Regions from separate parts of the Homo sapiens genome. Here region 1 is linked to region 2. Evidence: promoter capture Hi-C in 16 types of primary human blood cells and fetal thymus (Javierre and others, 2016). All regions are on one chromosome and are shown on one strand. Each heading gives the region's core, a stretch centred on a gene start or on the middle of the fragment in contact. The rest is flanking DNA. Distances are from core to core; before and after follow the strand shown. Region 1 overlaps NAA30 (N-alpha-acetyltransferase 30, NatC catalytic subunit). Region 2 holds the start of GALC (galactosylceramidase).

The links. The method cuts DNA at HindIII sites, captures the fragments that hold promoters and counts their contacts. A CHiCAGO score of 5 or more calls a contact.
Region 1: a fragment that was not itself captured here is called in contact with the fragment with the promoter of GALC in region 2 in 1 of 17 cell types (fetal thymus); the score reaches 6.1 in fetal thymus.

Annotation. Positions count from the first base shown.
Region 1 is chr14:57,393,648-57,398,503 of GRCh38, forward strand. NAA30 (N-alpha-acetyltransferase 30, NatC catalytic subunit) reads left to right here. Exons shown (of 5, transcript NM_001011713.3): 3 at 3,105-3,228. Among named protein-coding and RNA genes, the nearest start is that of NAA30, 5.5 kb to the left of the region's middle. The HindIII fragment of the contact is 665 bases long and covers 1,394-2,058 here.
Region 2 is chr14:87,991,801-87,996,969 of GRCh38, forward strand. It overlaps GALC (galactosylceramidase), which reads right to left and starts at 1,382. Exons shown (of 17, transcript NM_000153.4): 1 at 1,170-1,382. The coding sequence starts at 1,364. It also overlaps the pseudogene RNU6-835P. RefSeq lists a silencer at 1,050-1,239 and enhancers at 1,195-1,695, 1,390-1,719. The HindIII fragment of the contact is 1,583 bases long and covers 363-1,945 here.

The DNA.
Region 1 (4,856 bases), core at 476-2,975, about 31 Mb before region 2:
TTGTTTTTTGATTGAAAAAAAGTTAAGAACCAAAGTGACTTAAAATGTTTCAATCTCCAGATATTTACTGACAGAGGGGTAGGTTTTGTTTTGTTTTTTGATTGAAAAGAAGTTAAGAACCAAAGTGACTTAAAATGTTTCAATCTCCAGATATTTACCGTCGGAAGGGTAAAGCTAGAACCCAGTTCTCCTGGCCTCTCATTATGGTAACAAACAAGAACCTGAAAAATGACATACCCTTGATCCATTCAGTGAAGATTATTGTGTCACCAAGTTATCTTCACCAAGGGACAGTTGCCCTTACATCAATCTCAAGAGATTAAAAACCTCCAAAATGTTCCGTTTTCCGTGGATAACCTGTAATGGGTCAATGGAGTATATGGGGTTGAACCTTACAAAATTGCCAATACTTGATTAATAAAAATGATAGCTTATTATGATTCTTCCTAATTGTAAAAGATGTAAAAAAAAAAAAAAAAAAGGACAAATGTGAGACACTTTCAGTTACTCTGTACTTAACCATTTTATCTTTACCTGTTTTCATAGTAACATTTTCAGTTGTTGGTATCTTTTTGAAGTTCTTAAACTTACTCTCAGCAAATGTAACATAGTACTTCCATTTATTTGTTCTAAATTTAACTTTTTGGCTTCCTCCAGTTTTCTATTTGTAGTGTTCTAGAATTTGGGAATCTCTCACTTTATTTTTTTCATAGTTTTATAGACTGACAACCCTTTGGCCTTGTAGTGTTAAGTCTTAATCTTGCCGGGGATTTTTCAGTTCCCATCCTTGAAAAAATACATTTAATAGCGTGAATTCCAAATGTATATGCAGAGCTTTTATTTGGAAAAATTGACAAGCAATTTAGTGATTCCTGTAAATGTACCACATATTCATGAGTAGTTTATCAGGAAAAAAAAATGCAGCATTGGTCTTCACTACTAATGTCATCGTAATGGTGTATGATATATTGGGCTTTTTAGATGATGTATACAGCTTGATTTTTGCTCCTATAGATTCTAAATTAGGAAGAAATCAGGTCTTAAGAATGAACTAATTTAATATTTTGTTTGCTTATTCCATGCTCAAAGGACAAAGATTTGTTTGAAATTCCTGTTCAGATTGAAAGTACTGTCCAGTTGTATTGTGTTTAATGGTTTTAATTTTTCCTCATTTTTGGATAGTTTTATATAAGGTGTAGCTATTCTGAGGTTTGTATCATCAATCTAATACAGGTTTTCATTTCACCTGAGCCTGGCTTATGAGGTCAGGCCAAAATTTTTTCTGGCCCTTTTAAATATACCATTTGGTCTGTGATAATTTTATGTATGTGTATGTATTTATACGTGTCTGTATATACGCACATATATTTGAAGTGAGTTTCAAATCAGAAAAAGCTTTCAGAGTTGGTCGAGGCGATTTTTGTGCATACTTCAGGTCTTTGTTTAAAAAATTTTTTTAAAAGATTGATGTATTGTGAGGGAAAAAATTAGAAATAACAATTTCAGAGGTTTATTGACCCAAAATAGTTTTGGAATGTGTGATAAACCAGAAATGAATTAGCGTGGGTTGTTGAATTTCATATTCCTTCAAAAGGATTTTTCCGACCTAGTTTAGGTTTGCATGAAATGGATTAGAATTATCTTGCTGAAAAGATTTCTCCACAGTTAAAAAAAGGCCTTTTAATCAATTTACAGAATGACAGACTAAAAAAGTCACAAATTTAAAATATGTATTAATTATAAATTGGACATTACTTATTAGTTTTTTGACTCATTTCTGCTTTTGTTGAAATAGTTTCTTCTGGAAAGTTAATTTATGGAAAACAGACTTCTTACTGACACATTATTTAAACAGTTGGAGATACTGCCCTATTTATATTTACCAGAAATACTGTGTTACTAGAACTTTTTATCAGCATTGGAATTTTTGAAAAACATTTTCAATGGTAACACTAGAAATCTTAATGAAAATGGGGGATGATTAGAATTTAACATGTAGCTTTTAATACTCTGGAAAGCTGTACGTTTTTATTAAAATAGAAATTTCTGTAAAATTAAAGCTTTTAACATAAAGCTTTGATTTTGAACTATAAATATTCTGAGAGCTTTATGACAGTTATCCACACTATCAGGAGTATCCTAAAAATGAGACTATGCTACACTTACATATATTAACAAAAACCTCTTGGGTATGGTCTAAGCAATACCTTATAAACTGTGCTTTTTCTGAAAATTTTTAATTTTTTTTTCCTGATCGAAATCTACCATTCAGGTGTAAATATGTATTATATCTGGCTTTCACTAAAACTTTATTATTAAATTTATTTTCATTTTTTTCTTTTATTGAGATGGGGTCTCACTCTGTCACCTAGGCTGGAGTGCAGTGGCACGATCTCAGCTCACTGTAGCCTCTCCCTTCCTGGCTCAAGCCATTCTCCTATCTCAGCTTTCCAAGTAGCTGGAACTACAGGTGCATGCCACCACACCTGGCTAATTTAAGTAATTTTGGTGGAGACAGGGTTTTGCCATGTTGCCCACGCTGATCTCAAACCCCTGAGCTCAAGCAATCTGCCTGCGCCTGCCTCCCAAAGTGCTGGGTTTACAGGCATGAGCCACAGCACCTGGCCATTATTACTAAATTTAACTGAATATATTTAAATTTACATTCTGCTGATGGGCAAGTTTTACAATATTTTATGTCCTAATGAATAGACTTTTTCTTTATAATCATTTTTTTTTTGCATATTTCCCCTTCCAGAACCTTAGGTCTTTGTTGCAAATAATTGTGATTTTAAGCACCTCATATGTAATCTTATAAAGTACTTGAATGTTTACCTTGTGGAATCTTGTCTTTTTTCCCTAGGCTTTAATAGTAAGCATAAAAAATTCATGTTCTAAAGAATATTGAGAAATTTTAACACTGGAACATTTAAAGGAGTTAGGGGATTTAGATTTCTGAAACTTCTGTGACTGCTGTCTTGCAAGAGTTCCCATTATCTTCCCCCGTCGAAAATGCTTACCAATGGTTGGTTGTTGTTTTCTCTGGATAATTGTGCAGTACCTGATGGCAATGTATTCTTCATAACTGTTTGTTTATTTTTAAGGCCATGGTAGGGGAGGAGTGTGTAGGTGCCATCGTTTGCAAGTTGGATATGCACAAAAAGATGTTCCGCAGAGGTTATATAGCCATGTTAGCCGTGGATTCCAAATACAGGAGAAATGGCATTGGTAAGAAAAATATTATTTTATGGAAAGAATGCCTAAGCTATTTTCATTTTTGTTGTGTTTTGAAATAAAAGACTTAAATGTAAGTATGTAGAAATGAAAGAAACTAAGGGAAGAAAATTAAGGCGGGTTTTAATTTTTAATTTCAAAATGGTATTTTTAAAAAGTTCTTAAAATGAATTTTTTCTTTATTAATGTTTTGTTTGACAGTTTTTCGTTTTAACAAGTAGCCGATCATCAGCTTTCACCTGCAGATTTTTTTAATCACATTCAAAATGCTTTGCATTATGCTAAGTACCACAAGAAATACTGCAATTTATAATTACATTATGATGGTCCTTCATGCCAGCCTTCAAGCACTTGTCTGTATTTGGGTTAAGTGGACCTCAATCAAGCCAAAATTATGGACAAATTGTTACCATTACTTGGTGCTAGTCATCAACTATATATTGCAATTCAGGAAAGATCAGGAGATGAGAATTGATTGTTTCTTGTAATTCCCAAACTTAATTTTTTGTTGGGTCTACTTTTCCTGACATGTTTAGTTAATCTTAACACTCATGATTTATAATGATCATTAGAATCATGTGGGTGGTTTAAAAACATGTATTTGGGCCCCTCACCCTGAGACTCTTGTTTGTCTTGTCAGAGGTGGGGCTGAAGCTTCCCTAGGTGACTGTGATGTAAGCCTGATTAAGAACCACTCTTCTATGGCTGGGTTAGATAACTTTTGTCATTTAAATAACGCCATAAAACTCAATAGGCCACCAGGTGCCGGGTGCGGTGGCTCACGCCTATAATCCCAGCATTTTGGGAGGCCAAGGCAGGTGAGTCACTAGGTCAGGAGTTCAAGACCAGCCTGGGCAAGATGGCGAAACCCTGTCTCTACTAAAAATACAAAAATTAGCTGGGAGTGGTGGTGGGCACCTGTCATCCCAGCTACTCAGGAGGCTGAGGCAGGAGAATTGATTGAACCTGGGAGGTGGAGGTTGCAGTGAGCGTGCCACTGCACTCTAGCCTGGGTGACAGAGCAAGACTCCGTTTCAAAAAACCACTCTTCTATTCTCTAGGACCTAGTGGCTCTTTGTTCACAGTGGAGAATTGGGTAGACAAGCATTTGTCTAAGCATGTCAAATTTTGTGATGTGCTTTAGCTGAGTATTCATAAAAAAAAGTTTAATACCTGTACCAGTATTTAATCATTAGTTTTTTCACTTTCATGTTTTTTAAAAACTATTAAGTGTTATTGTCCAACCTAAGACTCACACACGGTCCTAGGTATCATGAGAAGTAACTATAAATAGGTTTACTTAATATGTTAGGTTTAGCCAACTTTATTGCAGTGTTACAGCTTTCCACTAAGATTTTTAATGAATTGGGCTTGTTTTATGGACTAAGTTTGAGCCTTTGATGCATTAAAAAGCACTGATAAGGACTCATGATAAATTATAGCCAATTGTTTGGCTAGTTTGGAGGGCAGAAACCAGTGGCTTTTGGGTTGCATCCTGGCCTTCAGACATACTTTGTTTGGGCCATAAAATGCGTGCATACTTGTATGCATGGCTTGAAAATTAAGAGTTTTTAATTTAATTTTATTATTTTTTGAGACAGAGCTTCGCTGTATTGCCCAGG
Region 2 (5,169 bases), core at 132-2,631:
TAATAAACCTAATGGAAACAAAGACTTCCATTTTTCGGTAAGCTCTTACCCTAGATATAGTATCACAAGTAAAGCTATAAAAAAGATGGGGCCTCACTCCATGAAATATTGGCTGTTTCAGGTTTAGCCCAAAAACATAAAAAGGAGAATAGTAGTAGCAAAGAATAAATGCATTAACTCATCGGCCCACAGGTTTCCCCTGAAATACACATCAGCACGGCTGGAGAGATTGCAAATTAGGGAATGAAAACATAAAAATCAAAAAGGATCAGCTAACTCCAGGGGGAAAAAAATTTCCCCTAGCAGAAGGTTATATCTTGTGGTCACACTACAGACCAGGTCATCCTTGCAGCAGGCATTCAAGCTTGTTCTGAGTTGAATGTAAGGATGCAAGCTCCATCCAACTCAACCCCAAAAATCCGAGTTCAACCTTAACATTTTCAAGAAACATTAGCCCTAGATGTAATTTCGGATACAAAACCAAAAAACAAAAACCTTCTCACCCAAAGGTCGGCCACCATGAAGCCCATGGGCCCAGAGGGAGTACCCGGTAGTTTCAGGCCGCTCGCTTATCTTCCTTTTAAAGAGACCTTGAGGCACCAGTCCTGCCTCCAAACGAAATCCTATTCGGCGCTACCCTCTCTGGAGGAGCCCATTCTTACCCTGCACTAACAACTGCACGGGACTTAACGACTCCACCACCCACCAACTCCTCCAAAAGGGAGAGACACAGCCAAAGCATCCCACTGGGGCGTTCTCTTTCGCACACGGACGCTCCCGCACTCCCTGGCCCTTTCTGGAGCGACGCTCCCCGACTGCCATCTCCGCGATGAAGACAGCCTGTGCCCCACTGCCTGGGACGAGGGTTCCAGCCCCGGCTACTTCACTACTTAGACCTGTCACTTTACTCTCTGCACCTATACTCTCTGGACCTCCGGATCCTCATTTGTTCAAACCTAACTGCCTGTCTGGTTCGTGTTAAACGAGAAAGCACCCGCCCCAGCCCCGCAGCGGGCCCGCCCCAACCGCCTGCTGACTGGCACCCTAGGGGAATGCGGCGGAGAGTGGAGCCGGTGGAAACGCAGGGCAACGCCGCGGGGGCTTGTGGGGCTGGCCCCACGGGGCGGGCTCTTGCCGCCCCCCGCGTATCCCCGCAGCTTGCCGCTCACCCCGCCGCCGCTGACCGCGCCGATGCCGTCGAACTCCCGGCCCAGCCCGTCGGAGTCGTCGAGCACGTACGCGCCGCCGGGCGCCAGCAGCGCACACAGCAGCAAGGGCACCGCGGCGCGGCCCGCCGAACCCGCGGCCGCAGTCATAGCTTTCGCTCGGCGTTGCCAGGAAGCCGAGAGTAGCCACTCAGCCATTGTGTGGGTCACATGACTCCGGCGCCCAGGGAGGCGGGTCCCGTCGCCGCCACGATAGATACGGGCAGGAGGCCGCTGATGCTGACGCCGCCGCCGCCATTTTGAGTGCGGGTCAAGGGCCTCTGACGCAGCTGGCGGAGTGTTGAGAAAAGAAGCAGCGAGCTTTTTCTTATCGCTCGCGTGTCTGTGGTCAGCTACTGGATTTCACATGTACTTACTGCTGGCTTCTCTTCCGGCGTCACCTGGTGGAGCACTTTAACGCAGGGAAGGTGGATTCCAAGGTCCGCCAAAGGAAGAGGGCCATGAGTGGCCCTACCATGGCTCTTCCCCAGCATCTCAGGGAGTATCTACCTCGTGCGAGGACCAGGCTTGGACACCAGGTCCCGATTCCATTGTCATCTTGGTGGAATCACTTTGCTTTTGGAGCCTGAGTTTTCCCTTATGTGAGATGAGGCGAGAAGAGCAGCAGAGTGAGGGACTGAGAGAAAAGTTAATAAGCACTCAGTACATTTGAATGCATTCCACAAGTGGCAAATAGCTGAGAAGGTTCTCCAGTCTGGTAACTACCCCGGCATATTCAAAGCTTTTAGCCTTGAAGGAGTTAATAATATACCACCTCAAAATATGCTGCTGTGGCATATTGACTATTTTAAATTAAAGGCACTTAAAAACAGCAGGTGCAAGATCACTGTCATGGATATTATGTGTCTTAAAAGGAGGAGATGAAATTCCCATGTGAAAGATGTCTTCCCTATAAAATAACATTGTTATCTTCAAGGACAGAAAGTTGAAGTCGAGGGAAATCTGTCCAAACAAAATTTGTTAATCCCTATCTTTCTAGTCGCTTCTTTACCCCAAGCCCCTTCGCCTTATCATGTTTCACAACTACTATTTTTTGTCCATTTCACTCTATAAGCAATTGGCTCTTAACTGCTGCTTTAGGTCTTTTTTTTTTTTAATGAGGGCCCCCGTGCTATGTAAAATAAACATTTGTGTGGTTGTCTCCTGTCAGTCTATTAATATCTTAAATCAATTTAATACTAGGGCCATGCTGGGACCCTACAGGGACGAAGGTGAAATTTTGCCTCCCCTACAATTTTATAAACTATCTTCCACTGTCAGTTGAAGTGATTCCAGACAGGTAACTCTAAATTGGTAGGAAAGTTGTGAATTGCCCTGAATTTCTGCCACATCCAGCACTGTCCTGAGATTTCTGATTTCCTTGTTATTGAAGTAAATTAAAGAGACTCTGAAGAGCTGCAGAGAAAGATTTTCTGATCCCCAAATTTCTCTTAGCAGAAGTATGGAACTGGTTATCATTGCCTACACAAGCCCCTGAGATACCACAATGGCAAGGAAAAGACCCAGAGACTTTAGGACCTGTGGGATTTGTCTGCAGAACCCTATTTGGAATCTGATTATTTTGCCCCTTAACCACAAACCTAAATCTAAGTTTCAAGAACTCAATTATACTTGAAGGTCAAAGCTCTGGGCAATCCAATAAATATGCACATTAAGAACCCGATATCCCTGGGTTCTTAATGTACATTAGATATGTTTGTTCTTTCTTTCTTTTTGAATTGACTCTACGTCTATCCTGGTTTACTAAGGACAGTCACAACTTTTGTCTAAACATAATTACTGATAATGCTCCTTTCACCCTCAGTAGTCTTCTGGCTTGGATCAGTTAAATAGTCCCCTGTGTATGAACCACTTATTTTCTTTGGTTTCTTCTTTCCCCAGTACAACACGAATCTGAACTCTCTGCCTTGCCACTGCAACCAGTTTATGATGCAAGTCAGTAATTTTCAGTTCTGTGGATTTACTGTTACAGAATTCACTCTGATCCATTTGTTCTAACACAGTATTTTAAGCATGAGCTGGAGCTCCTGTGGATACAAGCCACAGTAACCATTCCATCAAGTGAATGTTAAGCTTCTCTTACCAGCTCTTAACAAGCGCATAAGACCCACTTAATACCGTGACTAGATGGGAAATACCAAGGTGATGACAGAGGAAACTACCTTACACATAAAACTAGGAAGTTGCATGACGATGTATGAATACCCAGCATACACCATCCTGTAGTACGTCATTGTGAAACGGGTCAGTGGTCAGTGGTCTCGTTGTCTGAGGTGTTATCCAAGCTTGTTGTCTCACAACCAAGAGAATTAAGGAGTGTGGACACCAGAGTGAGGTTGAAGAGAAAGTTTATTATATGAAAGAAGAAAGCTTTCTTTCTTTGCCATTTTGCCACTTTTACAGTTGAATCCAAAAGCTTTTATAAGAAACTCCTCTCATCTCTGTAGCTGTTTGTGTAACTTACTTGTAAAGCTATCTGTGCAGCTCCCCTTATCTGTGCAGCTGTGGGTATGTCTTGGGTAAGGATAAAGTTCAGCTTCTCTTGTTTGTGTAACTGTGGGTTCTAGGTAATCACCCTCTCCACCCCCATGCAAGTTCCCACAGAGCCCACCATGTATGTGCCTGAAAAGGGGAAGAAACTTTTTCCTGGGAACCTGCTAATCACACAAAGAACAAAAGGCTTCTATGTTGGGCCTTCCTTTCTTATCAGGGCAGCTGTTGCCTGAGTTTTCCCCAGGCCACTCTATGTGTGCCTGTAGCTTGATTTTTCAGGCTGTCTTTCTGTTTAAAAGAATTTTACCAAAGACCAACTTTAGCTGTCTGCCCAACTAAGTTTTCCCTTTTCTCGTCCCTCAATTGCACCTTGTAGTTGGAATGCACGCCACAAATATTTGAGCAATGTGTGAAGTCTACAAAAGAGGAAGCATAAACTCTAATGGAAAAGGTAGCCTCACTTCCAGGAAGTCCCAGTAGTTCCTATTAGTTCAGTTACCAAAGAAATTGCTTACCAGATAAATATTTTTTGTTTCTAATTTCTGATCTATATTCATGAGAGCAGACATGAGGTAAGAAAGTTTCTAATAAAAGGCCAATAAATACATGCTGACAGAAATCCTTGGAGTGCTGGGCACGGCACTCAAATGTGCTCAAGATGTGAGATAAAGAAAAATGACAGTTACCCCACGAGTGATCATATGCTTAGCTTCCCTTGCGTCTGTGGATCAGGGTCAGTGAGATAAGACGGTAAGAAAGGAAGGTCCCAGTTTTCAGATTTTAAATGAGTTTAAAAAGTAATGACAGTGTTTCTCTCTCTGTCTTTTTAATCTGAAACACTTCAAGAATTTGCATGTCATCCTTGCTCAGAGGCCACACTGATCTCTGTAACATTCCAGTGTTTGTAAATGTGCTGCCAAAGGAAACACGATGATTTTTCTCTTAAATAACAGGTGTTTCTAAGTATCACAACTATACTTCAGCCACCCCAAATCTCTCCTTTTTCTAAATAAAATAATGTGATCAAAATCAAATAGTCTCTTGAGAAGGATCAGAGATCTTGCCTTTTAATGAAAATTTATTGATAAACTCTAATAGCAGTCTGGATTTTTTTTTTTATTTCCCCAAGACTATCATAAAACGGTATGATAGCAGTCTGTTGTCTCACTTCAGGAAAAGGCTTTACTTTTATAAATCAGTCCACCTCCCCTTCAGTCTACCATTGATGGGCATTTAGGTTGATTCCATGTTTTTGCTATTAGGCTGTCAGAAATTCCAGGGCAGAGGCCAAGTTTATTTCTTCTTTGTATGTCTTAAGCACAGTGCCCAAACTGTGCTAAGTACTCAATAAATATTAGTTGAATTGAACTAAAAGACAAATCACTGAATGGTCACATAAGGGGATACGAATAAAGAATTATTTACAAAAGGAGTTGGAAACGTTTCTTAA